2 separate regions of the Homo sapiens genome follow, and region 2 is linked to region 1. The links are contacts of gene promoters, found by promoter capture Hi-C in blood cells and fetal thymus (Javierre and others, 2016). All regions are on one chromosome and are shown on one strand. Each heading gives the region's core, a stretch centred on a gene start or on the middle of the fragment in contact. The rest is flanking DNA. Distances are from core to core; before and after follow the strand shown. Region 1 holds the start of WDR1 (WD repeat domain 1). Region 2 overlaps BOD1L1 (biorientation of chromosomes in cell division 1 like 1).

Region 1 (4,113 bases), core at 855-3,354:
GACTTCCAGATCATTACCATTAGATCCCTGGTGATTTTCTCCAGTTCTAAGCAAGGCCCTTCGGCTTTCTAGGAATCTGTGTGACTAGCAAGTTGTTAGCACCTTCAAAGCACATTCACACCCGCCCACCCCCTCATTTGAGGGGCCCAGCAATCCAGGGCAGGTAGAGCTCTGTCTTCCAGCAGAGGAACAGCAGCGACTGCCTGGGTTAACGAGACAGATGCGGGCAGAGCCAGCAGCTCTTCGGACCAAGAGGCTTCTCCTTTCACAGAGAAGGAAACTGAGACCCAGAGACCCCTTCATTCCCTCAGCCAGTTGCTGGCCTCCTGGAGGGCAAGTGTGTCCGATCAACAGTCCCAACCTACCAAGGGAAATCAGGCTGACTTTAAGTTGACAACCCTTGTATGCCTATGGCATCAATCAAAACATACATCTTTGTGCCAGCCGCCCCCACTAAGCACAGCACAGGAGAAATCACCCAATGGCCGGGCCGGCACCTCCAACTCCCACCCCACCAATTCCATCACTCAGGCTGAGGAAGGGAAAAGCAAAATTTAAGCGTGTAACCCAGGAAGGGAGGGAGACTGACAGACTGGGTCACCCCAACAATTACAGAGGAATAACATGAATTTGCAAGGATTTCCCAAGGAGCTGGCTCTAGAAGCCTTTTCAGCCTGGGTACCGGAGGCTTGCAGAGAATGATTCATGGGAAAACACTGCTTCCTGTTTTTGCTTTGGGGCTTAGATCCATGGTGGCAGATCTGGCTGGCCCAGAGGCCCGGGTGTTTTTCCGGGCTCTGCCATACTGGAAGACCAGGGTATTAACAGCGAGTTAGCTGAGTGCCATTCCATTCAGCAAGGGCTCAAAGTGCACCAGGCACCGCTGGGCTTGAGGGACGCCAGCAGCTCATTCATTCCATCTGCCCAGCCAGCAGGCGAAGCGAGAGTGGTCATCATCTCATCATCTGTTTTACAGACGAGAAAACTGGGGCTCAGAGATGCCCAAATCGCCAATCTTCTCAAGGTCACGCAGCGGCCGACCGGGTCAGTCTGATCCCTCAAATCCGGAGCCCTTGCTTTTAAGGAATGAACTAATCTAATCTCCCATCCACGTACTAACCAGGCCTGACCGTGCTTAGCTTCCAAGATCAGAGGCGATCCGGCGCTTTCAGGGTGCTATGACCGTAGACAGAAACGAACTAAGACTCAGTTTCCTCATCAAGAAGGAGCAGACAAGGACCTGGGTGAATCTGAGGCCGGCTTCCGGGGCTCCGAGGTGTGGCTCCCGGTAGAGGGGGCGTGGCGCCCTCACCCTCCCCGGGCCAATGGGCAGGAGGTGAGAAGTGGAGAGGAAGGCGAATTATCCCATCCCAAGGTGGCTCCGGAGCAGAACCGCGCCCGGGGTAGGGGGTACTCACGTCGATGTTCCTTAGGATGACGCACTTTCCATTGGTGTACAGAAAATTGTTGCCCTTAGGGTCGCCGCCGATGATCTTGGAGACGCCCCTCTCCACCTGCGGGAGGCTGGCGAACACCTTCTCTGCGGAGACACAAATGCGGCGGGGCATGTCAGGGCAGGGCGGGGACGGCGGGGACAGAAGGGAGAAGGAGCCCCGGACCGGTCTCGGCCGGTCACCTGTTGACTGCGCCGGGAGGGCGGCCTCCACTTTCCACGAGCGCCAGGAACCGCGCGACTTCCTGGTCCGCGCCCCGGGCCAGGCCCTTGGGGGCAGCGGGGCTCCTCCGGCTCGGCCCACGGCGCCAACTTGGGGGCGCACCCCCCGTCGGGGGTCCCGCCCTGCACCACCGAGGGCGGCCCCGCCACGCCTCCGGCCGGCGCCCGCACCCCTCCCCCGCGCCGAGGACTCCCCCGCCACCCGCACGGCGCCTAGGGGCCGGGGACCGGGGCCGGGGCAGCGCGGCGGCCGCTCGGGGGCCCCGCGCCGCGGCACTTACTGATCTCGTACGGCATCCTCGCCCACTTGTTACCGCGCCGCGCTCGCCGAGAGCCTCCGGGGCCGGCCCGCGCTGCGAATTACACCTCGCCGAGGCCGAGCCCGGGGACTGGAGCCGGAAGGCGGCACCGGGCGTGCCGGGAGTGGAGTGGGCGGTCCGAGGCCGGGGCTCAGAGGCCAGCTCGCGCCTGCCCTGCGCGCTGTGGTTGCGGACGCCCCGAACCCGGAAGCGCGGTCCCGCGCGCGGCTCGCCCCCAGCTTTGACCATATATAGTCAAGCGCTCGGCTCGGCGGCTGCGGTCCCGGCGAGCCTGCGCGGACCTGGCGCTCCCCTCCCCCGCCGGCCCCGGCCCCGCCTCCGCCTTGCTCGCCCCGCCCCGGAAGTGACGTATAGCACGCCCCGCGGGCCCTTGAAAAGGCGGCGCAGACAAGCAGCCGCGTCAGAATGCTTCTGGGAGTCGGGGGGTGGGTGCCTTTCTGTTGCTAGCTTGTAGGAGAAGCTGGGCTGTAGGAAGTTTATTTGCGGGGGGGTCTTAAAGACGCTGAAAGTACTGGCGGGCTTTGGTGGGGGTCTGGAAAAACCTCTCTGTACCTGTGACCGCGTTGCGTGGCGGGCGCTCCCCGGCCTCTCCTTTTTGACCGGTCCCGGGCGTTGCCCAGCCGCCAGTCCTCCTGCTCGGGTTTTGTAAGCAGGAGAGGGATGCTTTTTACGTCTTCTTAAAGTACGGTTAAGTGCCCTTGCTTGAAGTAGTTGCTGGCAACAAGAACGTAGGGGTTACTCTTTGTTGGGCCTGAACTCGTGCTTTTTCTCTCAAAAGTTGAGCTTTTGAAAGGCAAAAAAGGCGTGGGGGATGGGGGAGCTGTCGGTCTTAAGGAAGTTAAAGGTTATTTCCTAAACAAAACAAGTCTCACTCCTAAAACCAGGGTAGTGGCTCAGTTGTGGCGGGAGAGCAGGGGCTGTAAAGTGTCCAAGTTTCTAGTCTCATCTTTCAGTAGGATGGGTACAAGCTTTCCCCTTGGGGCTCTGGGGGCTGGGAGGGTTGTAAAAGTGGGAGAAAGCAAAGTATTTGGCGGGGTGCGGGCGGGTAGCTGAATGTTGTTGTAAGTGGAAGAGGAATGCTGTTGGCGTCTTTCTCTAAGCACGGTTAAGTGCTTTTTCTTGAAGTAGTTACTGGCAACAAGAACGTAAGGGTTACTCTTTGTTAGGCCTGAACTCGTGCTTTTTCTCAAAAGTTTAGCTTTTGAAAGGCAAAAGTGGGGGTGGGGGCGCTGCTGCTTTTAAGGAAGTTAAAGGTTATTTCCTAAGAAAGCAAAACAAGCCCCACTTGTAAAACCCGGGTAGTGGCTCAGCTGGAGAGCAGGCGCTGTGAAGTGTACAAGTTTCTAGTCTCATCTTTCAGTAGAATGGGTACAAGCTTTCCCTCGGGGCTCTGGGGGTGGGAGGGTTGTAAAAGTGGGAGAAAGCAAAGTACGTGGGTGGGGGGTAGCTAAATGTTGTTGTAAGCGGGAGATGGATGCTTTTGGCGTCTTTAAGCACGGTTAACTGCCCTTGAAGTAGTTGCTGGCAACAACGTAGGGGTTACTCTGCTGGGCCTGAACTTGTGCTGTTTCTCTCTCTCAAAAGTTAAGGTTTTTAAAAGGCAAAGGCGTGGGGAGAGGGGTAGGGGAGCTGCTACTTCTAAGGACGTTAAGGGTTACTTCAGAGCAAAACAAGCCCCACTTCTAAAACCAGGGCAGTGGCTCAATTGTGGAAGGGAGAGCAGGGAATGTGAAGTGTCCAAGCTTCTAGTCTCGTCTTTCAGTAGCGTGGGTACAAGTTTTCCATTGGGGCTCTGGGGGCTAGGAGGGTGGTAAAAGTGGGAGAAACCAAAGTACTTGCGGGTAGCTAAAAACTCTGAAACCCACGCTGTGAGCGGTTCCTGCTTCTCTGAAAGGTCTGTTCTGCTTAAGGTTGTATCAAGGTTAGTCTCTTGCTACCTACTTCTGTAGAGCAGTCTCTCGTGGCTCACCTGGGTTAGTGGCCATGTTGCCTGTCTCCTATTCTTCCTAACCTTGTGTGTTCTCCAGGTAGCTGAGTGATCCATCCGAAGTAAAATATTCCTCAGCTTGTCTGTAGGGGCTCCAAGTTTCATGAAGTAAAAGCTAGTCTTGAAAACGG
Region 2 (4,113 bases), core at 1,037-3,536, 3.5 Mb after region 1:
GTGTTTGCCTTTGTATTATCATCCCGTCTTATTATCCCCATTTTATACAACAAGAAATGGAGGCTCAGAAACTGATTTTTCCTCTAAAAGTCACCCGAGGACCATGAATGCTATTTAAATTTTCTGACCCTATTTCCTCGTTTGTAAAATGAGGGTGGTAAAAAAAAAATGTATTGCTTTCATTGGGTTGTGGTAGGGTATTCTTCTTTTTGATTGACAAAAAACCTGTAGGTCAAAAAGGTTTAGTAAGTTGCAGCAGTCATGTAAATAACATGTGGACTTCCCATGCCTCAGCCTCCTGCTTTTTCTCTCCCCACACATGAGAAATGGGCCAAAGGCTTTAAACTTTTAAACACAAGTAGCTTTTAGAGAAGTTTGACCTTCAAGTTTGATGAGAGTTATTTTGCAACATTATGATATGAGAAAAAAATTTATAGATATTTTATCTTTCTGGAACCAAAACCATCTTTTGGAAGACTGTCCTAAATGCACTCTGTTGTACAATCATCCTTGTAAATATTAAAATTTGCAATTAGGTACAGATTCTCACCTATGTCACACACATTTTCTTCAGAAGACACAGTAACCATTATGTCTCCTTCCTCAGGGAATGATTTCCTTGTGCTGTTATCATCTCCTGTTTTCTCAGCAGATGCTTGATCAGTCCATTTGCCACTATAATCATTCTTTATAGTCAAGTCCTGCTCACATTTAGGAGCCAACAGAGCTACACTGTAAGTAGCTGGAGGGATCATTGTGTGGGAAGGAGCAATTTTTGATTCTTGGCCAGTAATACATTTGGTGGTACTGGTTTTCAAGTTGTCTTCAGACCCCTGCTGCTCAGCAGGAAGAAAGGAATGCTCAGCCACGGTCCCTTGAACAGGTGGCATGTCATCAGCTTTTATAGCACCGGTGTTTACTGCTGCCAAATAGCGAATGCTGACAGAGGGATCCTTAGCCGTCTGCCCAGACGTCTGTTCTGGTCCTCTCAGGTGGGCAGGTGAGTTAGCATTCCCCTCTAAGCCCCTTCCTGCTGAATAACTTGCTGTGCTACTGCCCCCTGCTGTCCCTGTCTCTGGGCTCTTATCTTCTTTCTGAAGGGAGTTCAACAATACATTCTTCTCTTCTGCATTTATGAGGTGTAAAGTGCTCTCTTTCTGTCCTCTTCCTGCAAATGGTCCTATTTCGGGGCACTCCTTGCCATGCTTCTCTTCTTTTTCCGCACAAACAGCACTTGGATGGCCTTGCCCTGCAGAGGGCTTGTGGACTGATGGCCCGTTGTGCCCCTCCTCGGTGCTCACTGCCAACACGGGACCCGGTTCTTTGCCTCCCCTGACTGGCCCAGGACACCGACAGTTATTCTCAGCAATTAGGCTGGGCATGGGGACCTTGTGCTTGCTCACTTCTGTGGCTGACAGGTCACCGTTCCCTTCTGGGTTGTCTGCAGTCAGCTGATTCTCTTCATGTCTGTCAATGCTGGCGGAAATTGGCATACATTCTGCTGTGCTGGTGGAGATGATGGCAGCATCGCTCAAGTCTTCTACTCTTGTGATGGTGAGCCGATCTTCATCCTGGAGGACAGCACCAATCATGACTGCTTCACACCCTTCAGAGGTGCTTGTGGAAATCATGGCGGTGTCACCCATCTCTTCCGCTGGTGTGACTGAGGGGTCGCCTTCCTCTTGAGGGACAGCACTGGACACTGGGCCCTCACAGTCTTCCACCGAGCTCGTAGAGATGATGCCACTCCCGTCTTTTTCTTCCATGACTGTGCCAGCTCGCTCATTTTCACTTTCAACAACTACACCGGAAACAGAAGCCTCACATTCTTCTGCTATGCTAGTGGAAATGAGAGCACATTCATCCTTCTCCTCCTTGCTGGTTGAGGCAAGAGGACTTTCAGCTTCTGGGGGCGCACTGGGCATAGGCCCCTCAAAGTCGGCGGTGCTTATCAAGACTGGACCTGTAGCCCTTTCTTCCACTGCTGCAGCAACCGGCTGAAGACTTTCAGCACACTTGATGGTTGTTGCACTGGAGATAGGCAATTCGAATTCTTCCCCTATGCTTGTGGAAATCATGGCACACTCATCTTTCTCTTCACTTCTGCTGGCAGTGAGTTGGCTGTCATCTCCTGAGACTGCACTGGGCATGGGGGCCTCAAATTCTTCTGTGGTTACTCTGGTACCTTCCATATTTTCTTCAGTTCTCAGAGCATCTGAGAGACCTCCTTCCACATCTGTAATTGCGCTTACCTGAGGGGTGTAATCATTTGTGGTACTGGTGGAAATAATCAAAACTTTGCCTTGATTTTTACCCCCTGCTAAGCTATTCTGGTTGGTAATATCACCACTGGCTGTAGTTGCCATGAGACCATCACACTCTTCATTTTCTACAGAGGTGATGATGTCCTCATCTTCTTTTTCACTTGGTGATGTGTGAGCAACTTCACATTCTGGGACTTCACCAGATACAAGAACATCGTAACTACCCCCGACCAGGCCAGTGGAAATAGTGGTATCTTCAACTTTTTCGAGCTGACTGTCACTTTGATCAGATGCAGCACTAGTCATAGGACCCTCACAACCTCCTGGAACTGGTGTCACTTCATCCTTTCCTGAGACTGCACTGGTCACACTGCTTTCTACAATCCCTTTTGCACTGGAGCAGATATCTGTGTCTTTACTTCCTTTCTCTGTGCCACTCATGCTGTCAACATTATTTTCATTTGCATTCATGATGGCAGCTCCAGCCTCAGCTTCCACATGCTCTACCACAGTACCAATCTGACTGTCCCCTTCTGCACTTTCACAAATCAAGACCCCTTCACTTTCTTCTCCTAACCCTGTACAAGTTGAAGCATGCCCAATTTCATTTCCTCTTCCAGTACTAGTCACAACATCCTCCCCTTCCTCGTCTTCCTCTTTTGCGCCTGTGCTAGTCACAATGCCTTCATCATCACAAGGACCAGCAGCAACTAATGGTACATTAGTGCCTTCTTTGGCCACTGTGCTGTCCATTGCACTCTCTCCATTTTCTTCCGATTCAGAACTTATAGCAAAGCCTTCGCTGCTATCTTCTGAACCTGTGCAACTTGCTGGCCCCTCTCCATCTTCTGTTATCCCCGTGCTGGTGACTGCACTCTCACCTTCTGTACCATCATTCACAGAACCATCTCCTTCTTGGCTGGCACTTGTTCCTGGTGGTGCATCATTATCTCCCAGGACAACACCTGCACCTGTAACCATGCGTTCCTCCCGGGGCCCTGCTCCAGTTACTGAGCAGATCACAAAGTTATCACTTCTGCCTTCTGCTCCTGTACATGTCACAGTGCCCTCTGTTTCTTTTTTGGGACCCATTCTCATCATATTTCCCTGGGAGCCATCCACCTCTTCACTGCTTATAGATCCTGCTCTTATCTCTGTTCCAGCACTTGTAACTGCTCCATCACTTTCAACTTCACTAATAAAAGTAATAGTTCCTTCAACTATTTCTGAGTCTCTACTTAAAGAACCATCACATTTTTCTTCAGAGCCTGCACTGGTTACAGCATCATCCTTTTCCTCTGTCACAACGCTATTTACATTGGCTTCGATTTTAACTGCATGCACAGCCAGTAGGTCTGCTGCTCTGTCCTCAGATTCAGCCACAGCACACTCCCCACTTTCCCCTTCCTTAGTGCTTGTGAGGAAGGTTTCACTTTCAGCAAATCCCTCTGTGACAACAGCCCCACCTTCTTCAGCTGCAGCAAAAACAGTGCATTCACTGGCTTCTGCACCAACATGAAGAGGATTATTTCTGGAATGTGTTCCTATTATGAGGCCTTCATCTGCCTCAATGCTGGTGCAAGGCAAAGCCACCTCACTTTGTCTTGTTTCTGAAGAAGTGGTTGTGGCAGGCCCAGCCTTCACTGGACTTAAGGTGACATCTTTGTCCTTCCCTTCAGTACTAGTGGCAACAGAAGTCTTTTCTGCTCTCCTAGGCCCAGTTGCCACATCCTCAGTTTGTCCGTTCCTTTGGTGTAAAACAGAGGGTGCAGAGCCACTTCCAGCACTGGTGTCTACCTCACTGTTTTCATTCCTTCTTTCAACATCAATTGATATGTCTTTTACTTTA

The links. The method cuts DNA at HindIII sites, captures the fragments that hold promoters and counts their contacts. A CHiCAGO score of 5 or more calls a contact.
Region 2: a contact is called between a fragment that was not itself captured here and the fragment with the promoter of WDR1 in region 1, in 1 of 17 cell types (neutrophils). The highest score is 5.2, in neutrophils.

What each region holds. Positions count from the first base shown.
Region 1 is chr4:10,114,695-10,118,807 of GRCh38, forward strand. WDR1 (WD repeat domain 1) reads right to left here and starts at 2,105. Exons shown (of 15, transcript NM_017491.5): 1 at 1,957-2,105; 2 at 1,419-1,540. The coding sequence starts at 1,972. LOC124900666 (a long non-coding RNA gene) reads left to right here and starts at 2,395. Exons shown (of 2, transcript XR_007058030.1): 1 at 2,395-4,113. It also overlaps the pseudogene RNA5SP155. RefSeq lists enhancers at 962-1,766, 1,417-1,566, 3,337-3,436, 3,517-3,606 and silencers at 1,647-1,796, 1,877-2,286, 2,297-2,416. The HindIII fragment of the contact is 9,752 bases long and covers 1-2,961 here.
Region 2 is chr4:13,598,396-13,602,508 of GRCh38, forward strand. It overlaps BOD1L1 (biorientation of chromosomes in cell division 1 like 1), which reads right to left. Exons shown (of 26, transcript NM_148894.3): 10 at 551-4,113. Among named protein-coding and RNA genes, the nearest start is that of BOD1L1, 27 kb to the right of the region's middle. RefSeq lists enhancers at 767-1,267, 1,268-1,768, 2,861-2,930. The HindIII fragment of the contact is 5,971 bases long and covers 1-4,113 here.